2 separate regions of the Homo sapiens genome follow, and region 1 is linked to region 2. The links are contacts of gene promoters, found by promoter capture Hi-C in blood cells and fetal thymus (Javierre and others, 2016). All regions are on one chromosome and are shown on one strand. The core of a region is centred on a gene start or on the middle of the fragment in contact, and the rest is flanking DNA. Distances in the headings are between cores, read along the strand shown. Region 1 overlaps DNAJC11 (DnaJ heat shock protein family (Hsp40) member C11). Region 2 holds the start of VAMP3 (vesicle associated membrane protein 3).

Region 1 (4,331 bases), core at 388-2,887, 1.1 Mb after region 2:
ACTACAATAAGTTATTTGTTCCAGAACCATCTGGTGATTTGCTCCTTAGACCAAAAATTAGATAATATGTTTCTTTATAAAATCATAAAGTCATCTCACTGTATACATAATAGCTTGTAGTGTTTTTCACTTTATAGTTTTACCAAAAAGTTAGATTTTAATGGCCAGTGAAAATCAGGCTGCAGTGTGTGATAAATGTGTACAGTCGGTGTAGTGTCATTACCAAATTTAACTGTATTCAGATCATTTGCATGGCGGTTGTGAAGAGTAGCCTGTTCTTTTTATTGTATTCTGTTATCTAAATGGGTGCATTAATTTTACTGTTGTCTAAATTAGCCACATAGTTTGCTTGTATTGTGTTGGAGACCTGGGGAAGAGTTAAAGAAAAACCCTACCAGTGCTAGTGAAAGTGCCACAACAGCAGACCTGGCCTCATGTTTAGCTTAAAGGGAGACTCAGGTAAAATAGTGAATGAATAATTCCTTATTAAATGCTGGAGAGGAACACAAGTTTGGCTCCTGTGTTTTCCAGGGGCCAGCATTTCTTCCTTTCCCGTTAGATTTGATTATGCATAGTATCATTTATGTGGTTTTTAAATTAGGCCTACAAATATATGGGAACTGTCAGGGGAGAAGAGACCCAAAGGTCTTGGCAGAAATTGGTGAAGCAGAGGGGGAAGAGAACAACCATTGGCCTTGCTGACATTTGAGTTCAGTTGGGATATCGTTCAGTTGGGATATCGTTTGAACAGCCCTCACCGTTAGCTGAGAAATCCTTTTCTGATGTATTTTGGGTGATGTGGCCAACAACATGATAAGAGATGTTTTTGTCTTTTAAAATTATTTACAAATAGAGAGGAGAAGTGCACAAAAGAAATGTAGCCTGTCTTTGGAGTTAACAGAACTCTATAGAGTAAATAACAAATCAGCTTTTTCTAGTATCTGAGCCTGTTTCTACTTTTATAGCAAGCTTCTTTAGAAACTGGAACCCACTCTTTCAAGTCAGTGTACTTTTATACACCGTGGCAGAAATTTACCAAATTATCTTAAAAACAACGTTCATGTCCTTTCCCAATGCAGGAGCCCGTGCCACTTCCTGCATGGTGCACCTTGTACACCTTGTAGCTGTACCTTCCAATCAAGAGTAACTTGGACACTGGAAAATCTGACTTTTCTCATTTGTAGCCGCCTTTAAACATATCCTACATTAGCTGGGTGCAGTGGCTCACACCTGTAATCCCAACACTTTGCAAGGCCAAGGCAAGAGAATCATTTAAGGCCAGGAATTCGAGATCAGCCTAGGCAACATAGTGAGACCCCATCTCTACAAAAAATAAATTAGCTGGGCATGGTGGCACACACCTGTAATCCCAGCTGCTTGGGAAGCTAGAGCAGGAGGATTAGTTAAGCCCAGGAATTCAAGGCTGCAGTGAGCTATGATCTTACCATTGCACTCCAGCCAGGACAACAGAGAAGGACCCTGTCAGTCAATAAGTCAATAAACAAATCCTAGGTTGAATCGAAAAAGCAGTTGGGAGGAAAGATGTGTAGAAAATGAAAGGGGTCTCTAGGAAGATTGTGATCAGACAGGGAGAACAGGAGATGGGCTTACCTAATGATGTCAGTATTCTCAGGAAGGACTGAAGGTGAATTTTGTATTTTATAAACATGTTTAATTTTTAATTTGCAGTGCTTAGTGACCCCCAAACCAGGGCCATCTATGATATATATGGGAAGAGAGGACTGGAAATGGAAGGATGGGAGGTAAGAGAAACTGTGCGTCTGGTGTTCCAGAAAAGTCATTAAACAGTTACAGAACATCTCCCCAAAACCCTGCAATCTGTAATATTGTCTTTGGGAATATTTGAAACCATTAGAGCCCCCTTCCTTGCCCTGTATTTTTGTTTTAGAGGTTGAGTTTTGGACTTGGCTTTGCCACTTTGTAACTCTGAACTTGGGCCAGCCACTCATCTGACTTGTCCTTCGTTCCCTAACCTGTCAAGTAAAACGGAAGAGGGATGGACCGAACCAGTAATTTTTAACCCAGGTGTGGGGCGGGAGCAAGCGGAGCAGGGGGTTGATGGGAGACGATTTCTTCAAGGGTGCAGTTCTGTCTCCATATACACTCCCTTCCACCCTCCACAGTTCTGTGCCTCTCTCTCCACCTCAGTTCTGAATAATTGCTGTGAGGAAATATTTCAGATGGGAGTATGTTATGCACGTGAGCAAAATGGAAGCAGAGTTGCTGGGGTTGCATTGCCTGTAATGACCCTTTCAATTCTCATGTATTATAATATTCAAGCTTTGTCAAATGTGATGAGTGAAACAAAATATATAGCAAATGTGTCGCCCTGGGCAGCCATGCTGTGGGAGAGCAGTCACTAAAATCCAGACAATTTGTTTGCTTTCACACTGCCACTGACTAGCAGTAGAGTCTTGGGCAAGTCATTGGGCTACTAGTGCTTCCATGTTACTATCTGAAAAATGAATATGAAGATTAGTTGTGAAACCCTTAAGTTGCTACAGGGATATATAGGTATCATTAAAGAAACTTTGTTCTGACCCAGGCAAAGTGGCTCACACCTGTAATCCTAACACTCTGGGGAGCCAGGCTGGGAGGATCACATGAGGCCAGGAGTTCGAGACCAGCCTGAGAAACATAGCAAGACCCTGTCTCTACAAAACATTTTTTTAAAAATTAGTCGGGCTTGGTGGCGCACACCTGTATTCCCAGCTATTCAGGAGGCTGAGATGGGAGAATCACTTGAGCACAGGAGGTTGAGGCTGCAGTGAGCTATGATCACGCCACTACACTCTAACGTGGGCAACAGAGCAAGACCCTGTCTCACAAAAAAAAGAAAGAAACTTGGTTCTGATGCCCAATAAATTTTGCTAGTCTGTTTAATAACATTGAATTGACCCTCGTTGAGTTATATTTTCACCATCATGTAAGATTACCCTTGAAGTTCCTTCGTTTTTTTTGTTTTTTTTTTTTTTTTGAGACCAAGTTTTGCTCTTGTTGCCCAGGCTGGAGTGCAGTGGCGCAATCTTGGCTCACTGCAACAAGTGATTCTCCTGCCTCAGCCTTCCTGAGTAGCTGGGATTACAAGGCATGCGCCACTACACCCAGCTAATTTTGTATTTGTAGTAGAGACAGGGTTTCTCCATGTTGGTCAGGCTGGTCTCGAACTCCTGACCTCAGACGATCCACCCACCTCGGCCTCCCAAAGTGCTGGGATTACAGGCATGAGCCACCACACCTGGCCAAAGTTCATTCAATGTTTAGTCTCAAGCATGCGTGCCTGTCTCTTCCAGTTCTGGCATCAAAGCCTTGTAAAGGCCTTCAGATGAGGAGTGGAAGAAAAGCAAAAGAGGATCCTATTTCCTTTCCTGCCTTTCCACTACTGCTTCATATTGGTGGCTCATGGGCCATATTCCACTAATAGCCTTTTTTGGTGTGTGTGTGTGTTTGTGAGAGAGAGTGCGCGCGTGCTCTGTCGCCCAGGCTGCAGTGTGTTGGTGCCATCATGGCTCACTGCACCCTCGACCTCCCAGGCTCAAGTGAGTCTCCTACCTCAGCCTCCCAAGTAGCTGCGACTACAGGCACACACCACCATGCCTAGCTAATTTTTAAATTTTTTGTAGAGATGGGGTCTTTCTATGTTGCCCAGGCTGGTCTCAAACTCCTAGCCTGAAGCTACCCTCCCCCCTCAGCCTCCCAAAGCGCCGGGATTACAGGTGTGAGCCACCGCACCCAGCCTGTTGCCATTTTTTGATTGCCTCACACAGTGAATTCTAGTTGCTAACATTTCAACCCTGGGAGGTTCTGCATGATAATTCAGTCTTCTGTCTTTTCTTGAAACATCTGAAGATCTGGTAACAGTGGATCTGAGGAGCCCTTGCCCTTCAGATGGGGCTGGGCTGTCCAATTTGTCCCAGTCCCCACCACTCCCCCTTGCGTTATGTCTGGCTCTTCTCATCTGCATGTCCTCCTGGCTCCAGTGGGCAGTTGGTATTTGGCCTCTGGCTTGATGGGAATAGCAGTGCTTCCTGTCACATTGGTTCATTGCAGCTAGGTATTAAGCCAAATAACTTAGCATTTTCTCATCCAAAAAGGAAAGTAGAATTCTGTTGTATTTATTCAATTTCCCCGTCACTCTTTATACACTCCTTAAAGCTTCTTTGTTTTTTTAAGATGTGGGTTGGCTACAATTTTTCAAGTCAGCAATTGGAGTCACTGAAAAGCTGTAGGACCCCATTACATATTCCCTCTTCAAAGACTAGGTTTTTAGTCCCCAGCAGCATTATCCCAATCAGTGGAGCACTGGGGTC
Region 2 (4,233 bases), core at 1,038-3,537:
TTTTTCTAAACAGATTTCCAGAGTACTCATATTTGTTTAAAATTCATATTTCCAACATTTCAGAGCAATACCTCATCTACTTGATTTTGTGTCTGCTGAAGTCTTCGATTACTGCCAGTGGCAGCAGTTGGACCTGTAGACCTGGAACATGTAAAGGCATGAGCATGAGTACATTACGATTCCAAATACATTTTCTTAAGTATAAAGATGTTACTCCGGGACTCTCACTGTTAACAATCTCTTACATTAGAACTAAAACAGAAAAAGAAATTCTTCCTGAAGCAATGAACGAAAGTTTTAATTGCATTTCTTCTAATTTCTCTATAATTTCCAAGACTGTCCCACCTACTAAAGGGACAAATGTTAAGCTTTAATAGGACCTACTTTGTATCCCTGAAGTATCTGATCCCACGATAGGTAAGCTCTACTGTCCTTTTTTGAAACTTGTTCTAAGGCACACATCTGCTTGAATGTACTCAGTACTTTCCTGATCTTTTCATTGTGGAAGGAACTGTTTTCATAGTTACAAACAGTTACAGAATGCCCTTTTTCCAATATGGAAAAATAGATTAATTTACAGAAACAGAGTCAGGAACACTGGGATGCAGGGAGTGGGTGGTGTGAGTGGAAAGGTGTGTTGAAGAAATGCCTCCTCTTTTAGGAAGGTACTCTTTCTTTTTCCCCCTCTTTTGAGAGACGGAGTTTCGCTCCTGTTGCCCGGGCTGGAGTGCAATGGCGCGATCTCGGCTCACTGTAACCTCCGCTTCCTGGGTCCAAGCAATTCTCTTGCCTCAGTCTCCCAAGCAGCTGGGATTACAGGCATGTGCCACCACGCCCGGCTAATTTTGTATTTTTTAGTAGAGACGGGGTTTCACCATGTTGGTCAAGCTGGTCTCGAACTCCTGACCTCAAGTGATCCGTCCACCTCGGCCTCCCAAAGTGCTGGGATTACAGGCATGAGCCACCGCGCCCGGCCCAGGAAGGTACTCATCTTTTAAAATCTTCATCAAAGGCTTTATTTCTCCCCATGCAGATCTTTCTTAACCACTCTGACTCTGAAGTCATTATTGGCTCCATTACTTGGAAAGTATCACTTTGGTTTTTCAGGTATAAAGTCCCGCCTCCTCGAATAGATCACAGGTTCCTGGGTCTTCTTACTCTCTTCTCTGTATCCTAGATAGCACCTAGCATGTGCCTTGGTATACAACAGTCTGATGGGCTGTTTGAACAGTCACTTTACATCTGTCATGTGTCAATGACCAGGGCTACAACAGATCTCATCACCGTCCTCACGGAGTTTAGTATCTGGTAGATAAGTAAGGACCATGCCGTGGCGCTAGACTCTTTCCATGCTTTTCCTCCTTTAACCCTCATAACTCTCTGAGGGGAATATTACTCCTATTTTACAAATGAGTAAAGTGAGGTTTAGAGAGTCAACACAGCTGGCTGCAGGACAGCTTGTTTTTAGATCAGGTCCTGTGTACCTTGGCTCTAGATCTTAACCACTGTGATCTATTGGCACAGCAGCCTCAGCAGGAACATTCGAGGGGGGTCCCCAGCTCCTGGAAGAAACCCGGGGCTTCCTCCGACGGTGAGCAATGAGCAGAATGGAGGTGGAAGAGGGAGTCCTTGTGATTCTTAACCATTAGCATTCTCTGAGTCTTACCACTGGAAGCAGGGGTTTGCAACGTGCTTTCGCTTAAGAGAGCGAAGGCCCACGGTTAAGTGATCTTTCCAGTGCAGATGCCCCTAGCTAGGCAAGGAGCTCTTCGGCCCACAGGGGCTCAGGACAGGGCCGAGGTCCTTTCTTTCGCAACTTCTGGGGCCCAGCGCAGCACCGGGCCGAGAGCGGGCGCTCCCGAACCAGGGCTGTCGTCCCCATTCCTCTCAGGGACGTCGGGGACTAGAAAGGGAAGGGGCGAGGAGCGGGCTGCGGGCGGGCAGCTCACTTCCTCCGGGAAGCGTCTCGCCGCCCCGCCCTTGCCCCTTCCGCGTCCGCCCGATGGCCGCGGGACCCGCCCGGCCCGTCTGCAGCCCGCGACCCAAGGGCCACCGCCCACCCCCAGGCCTCGGGATCCCCGCGCAGCCCCGGCCTGCGTCCGAGTGGCGGCCGGCGGCAACTGGGCAGTATGGCGGTCCCAGCGCGAGCTGCCGCCTGCGGGGCCCGAAGCCGCCCGCGTCGCGTAGCGTCACTCACATTTTGGCAGCTGCGGCGGCGGCAGCGGCGACGAGAGAGGGTCAGCAGAGAAGCGAAGTTGGGACCGGAGGCCAGGGAGATGGGTGGGACGGCGCGGCGCGGGGCAAAGACGTCACTAGGCGGAGCCGGGGGAGTGGGCGGGGCGAAGAGGGGGCGCGCCGGAAGTGGGCGGGGGCGTCGTGGGTGGGTGCGTCCAGGGCGGGGTCAGAGCGAGACGTCCCCTCCCCGGACGAGGTCACTTGGGAACTTGAGGGCCACAGGGGTCCCAGGGCGGTCCGGGCTCTGAAACGCAGAACGCAGGTCAATACAGCTCCCTGTCCGCACCGCCGTCCGCGCTGGCGCTTGGGGACGTGGTCTGTAAACGTGGTGCATTAGCCACTGGCGAGGGACTGCGTGGATAAGTGAGGGTGGGGGCAATTCATGTTATTCTGGGCTCGGGACCATTTCTAACAGTATTAGAGACAGATGACTGGCTTCTGCTGAGTGTTCCAGAGTAACCTAGTGATCCTGAGGGCACCATGTTTCTCTAAAGTAGTTGAAATAGGAAGTCCATTTCGGGTATTTGTCACATGGTGTTGGGTGAGGTTCCCGCTCATGTTTTCATCGGTGACACAAATATTTGTCACTGCAGATCATATTATAATCTGCTTACGAGAGCCTTGGCATCAAGGCTGTAGTTCCTTTATTTCTGTATTTTCAGGCCCTAGCACAGAATAGGTCCTCAGGTTTTGGTCGAAGGGAGGGAAGCACAAATCTGAACGCAGTGAGTTACCTTGTATATATTTGTTACTGAAATATTCCTACCAACATAGTTACCTACACCAAAAAATAAAACACTAATAGGTCATTGGTGGGTCTCTTAGATGAGAAGTGAAAAATACAGTACTTAAATACTATGCTGTTTTTTCCAACTCTAAATAGAATACTTTGAAAAGGGAAACGTTAGTATATATCGAATAAACGAGTGTCACAAAGGCGGTGGGATTTGAGCTGGGTACTAGTGGAAAAGAACTTTCCAAGTAAGGGTTGGGCAAACACCATGAACAAAGACAGCAGTGAAAATGGACGCAGTGTGCACAGACCACCTAGAGGGTGCAGGTTGGGTACAAGTGAAAAGAAGACTGAATAAAGAGGATAAACAAACAAGAAAAATGTCATTTAATTGTAGTGGGCCCTGGAAACCATTGACTTACGGACGTGGGAGATCCATGATGCAAAATTTCTCTGGCAGTAGTGGCCAGATGGATTAGATGGAAGAGGGAGCACTAGGGAGATAAGGAGAGGCTCTGCAGTGAACGGGAAGGGAGCGGCGATGACACAATACTCAGAAAGGACGACGTTCGTAATCTGCTGGAAAATGCCTTTTAGAAGACTTTAGAGGATTGTAACTGAAAAGGTGAATTAAATTAATGTCTTTATCTTTCAAATAATTGCACTGCCTTACACAAATGATTGACATGTTGAGAGGTGCCTGGAAAGATAGGGGAAAAGCTCTCTGAATGGTGGCTGGAAGACATTTTTTCTTTCATGGACCTAGCTGAAACAATGTAACATTCAATGTCAAAACATTACATCTGGATCAGAAGGAAATCCTTGACATTATTACATATGTTTTGAAACATGTGCCCATCACCTTAGATTTCACTACCCGGTCATATTAAAGCAAAACACACACGTAGTATGGGGAAATTTTCTTCATTTTTAATTTACAGCAGAAAGAATATAAAGCATTCAGAAAACATTTTCCATATTTTAAGGGCAATTCAAAACATTTTGCATGGTTTCCAGCAGCTGAGTTCTTCAACAGATCCATTGATTCAATGATGCTTTACATGCACAATTACAAAAATAAAACTTACAAAAAAAGAAGACATCTAGACTAGTTTTACATGCAAGTCTCAGGGACCCCCCATTGGGCGCCAACTACTGTGTGGAACTGCCATAAGCGACCGTGCAGCCAGAGAGGGGTTCGTATTATTGTCTTTATTTCGTTCACACAGTACAGCTGATTTCGAATGGGTAACAATAGCAATTAA

What was found. The method cuts DNA at HindIII sites, captures the fragments that hold promoters and counts their contacts. A CHiCAGO score of 5 or more calls a contact.
Region 1: a fragment that was not itself captured here is called in contact with the fragment with the promoter of VAMP3 in region 2 in 1 of 17 cell types (endothelial precursors); the score reaches 6.4 in endothelial precursors.

Annotation. Positions count from the first base shown.
Region 1 is chr1:6,675,826-6,680,156 of GRCh38, reverse strand. It overlaps DNAJC11 (DnaJ heat shock protein family (Hsp40) member C11), which reads left to right. Exons shown (of 16, transcript NM_018198.4): 3 at 1,690-1,763. Among named protein-coding and RNA genes, the nearest start is that of DNAJC11, 24 kb to the left of the region's middle. The HindIII fragment of the contact is 1,332 bases long and covers 972-2,303 here.
Region 2 is chr1:7,769,350-7,773,582 of GRCh38, reverse strand. It overlaps VAMP3 (vesicle associated membrane protein 3), which reads right to left and starts at 2,287. Exons shown (of 5, transcript NM_004781.4): 1 at 2,198-2,287; 2 at 72-141. The coding sequence starts at 2,199. CAMTA1 (calmodulin binding transcription activator 1) reads right to left here. Exons shown (of 23, transcript NM_015215.4): 23 at 3,877-4,233. RefSeq lists silencers at 1,924-2,153, 2,118-2,360 and enhancers at 2,594-2,643, 2,387-3,083. The HindIII fragment of the contact is 4,711 bases long and covers 371-4,233 here.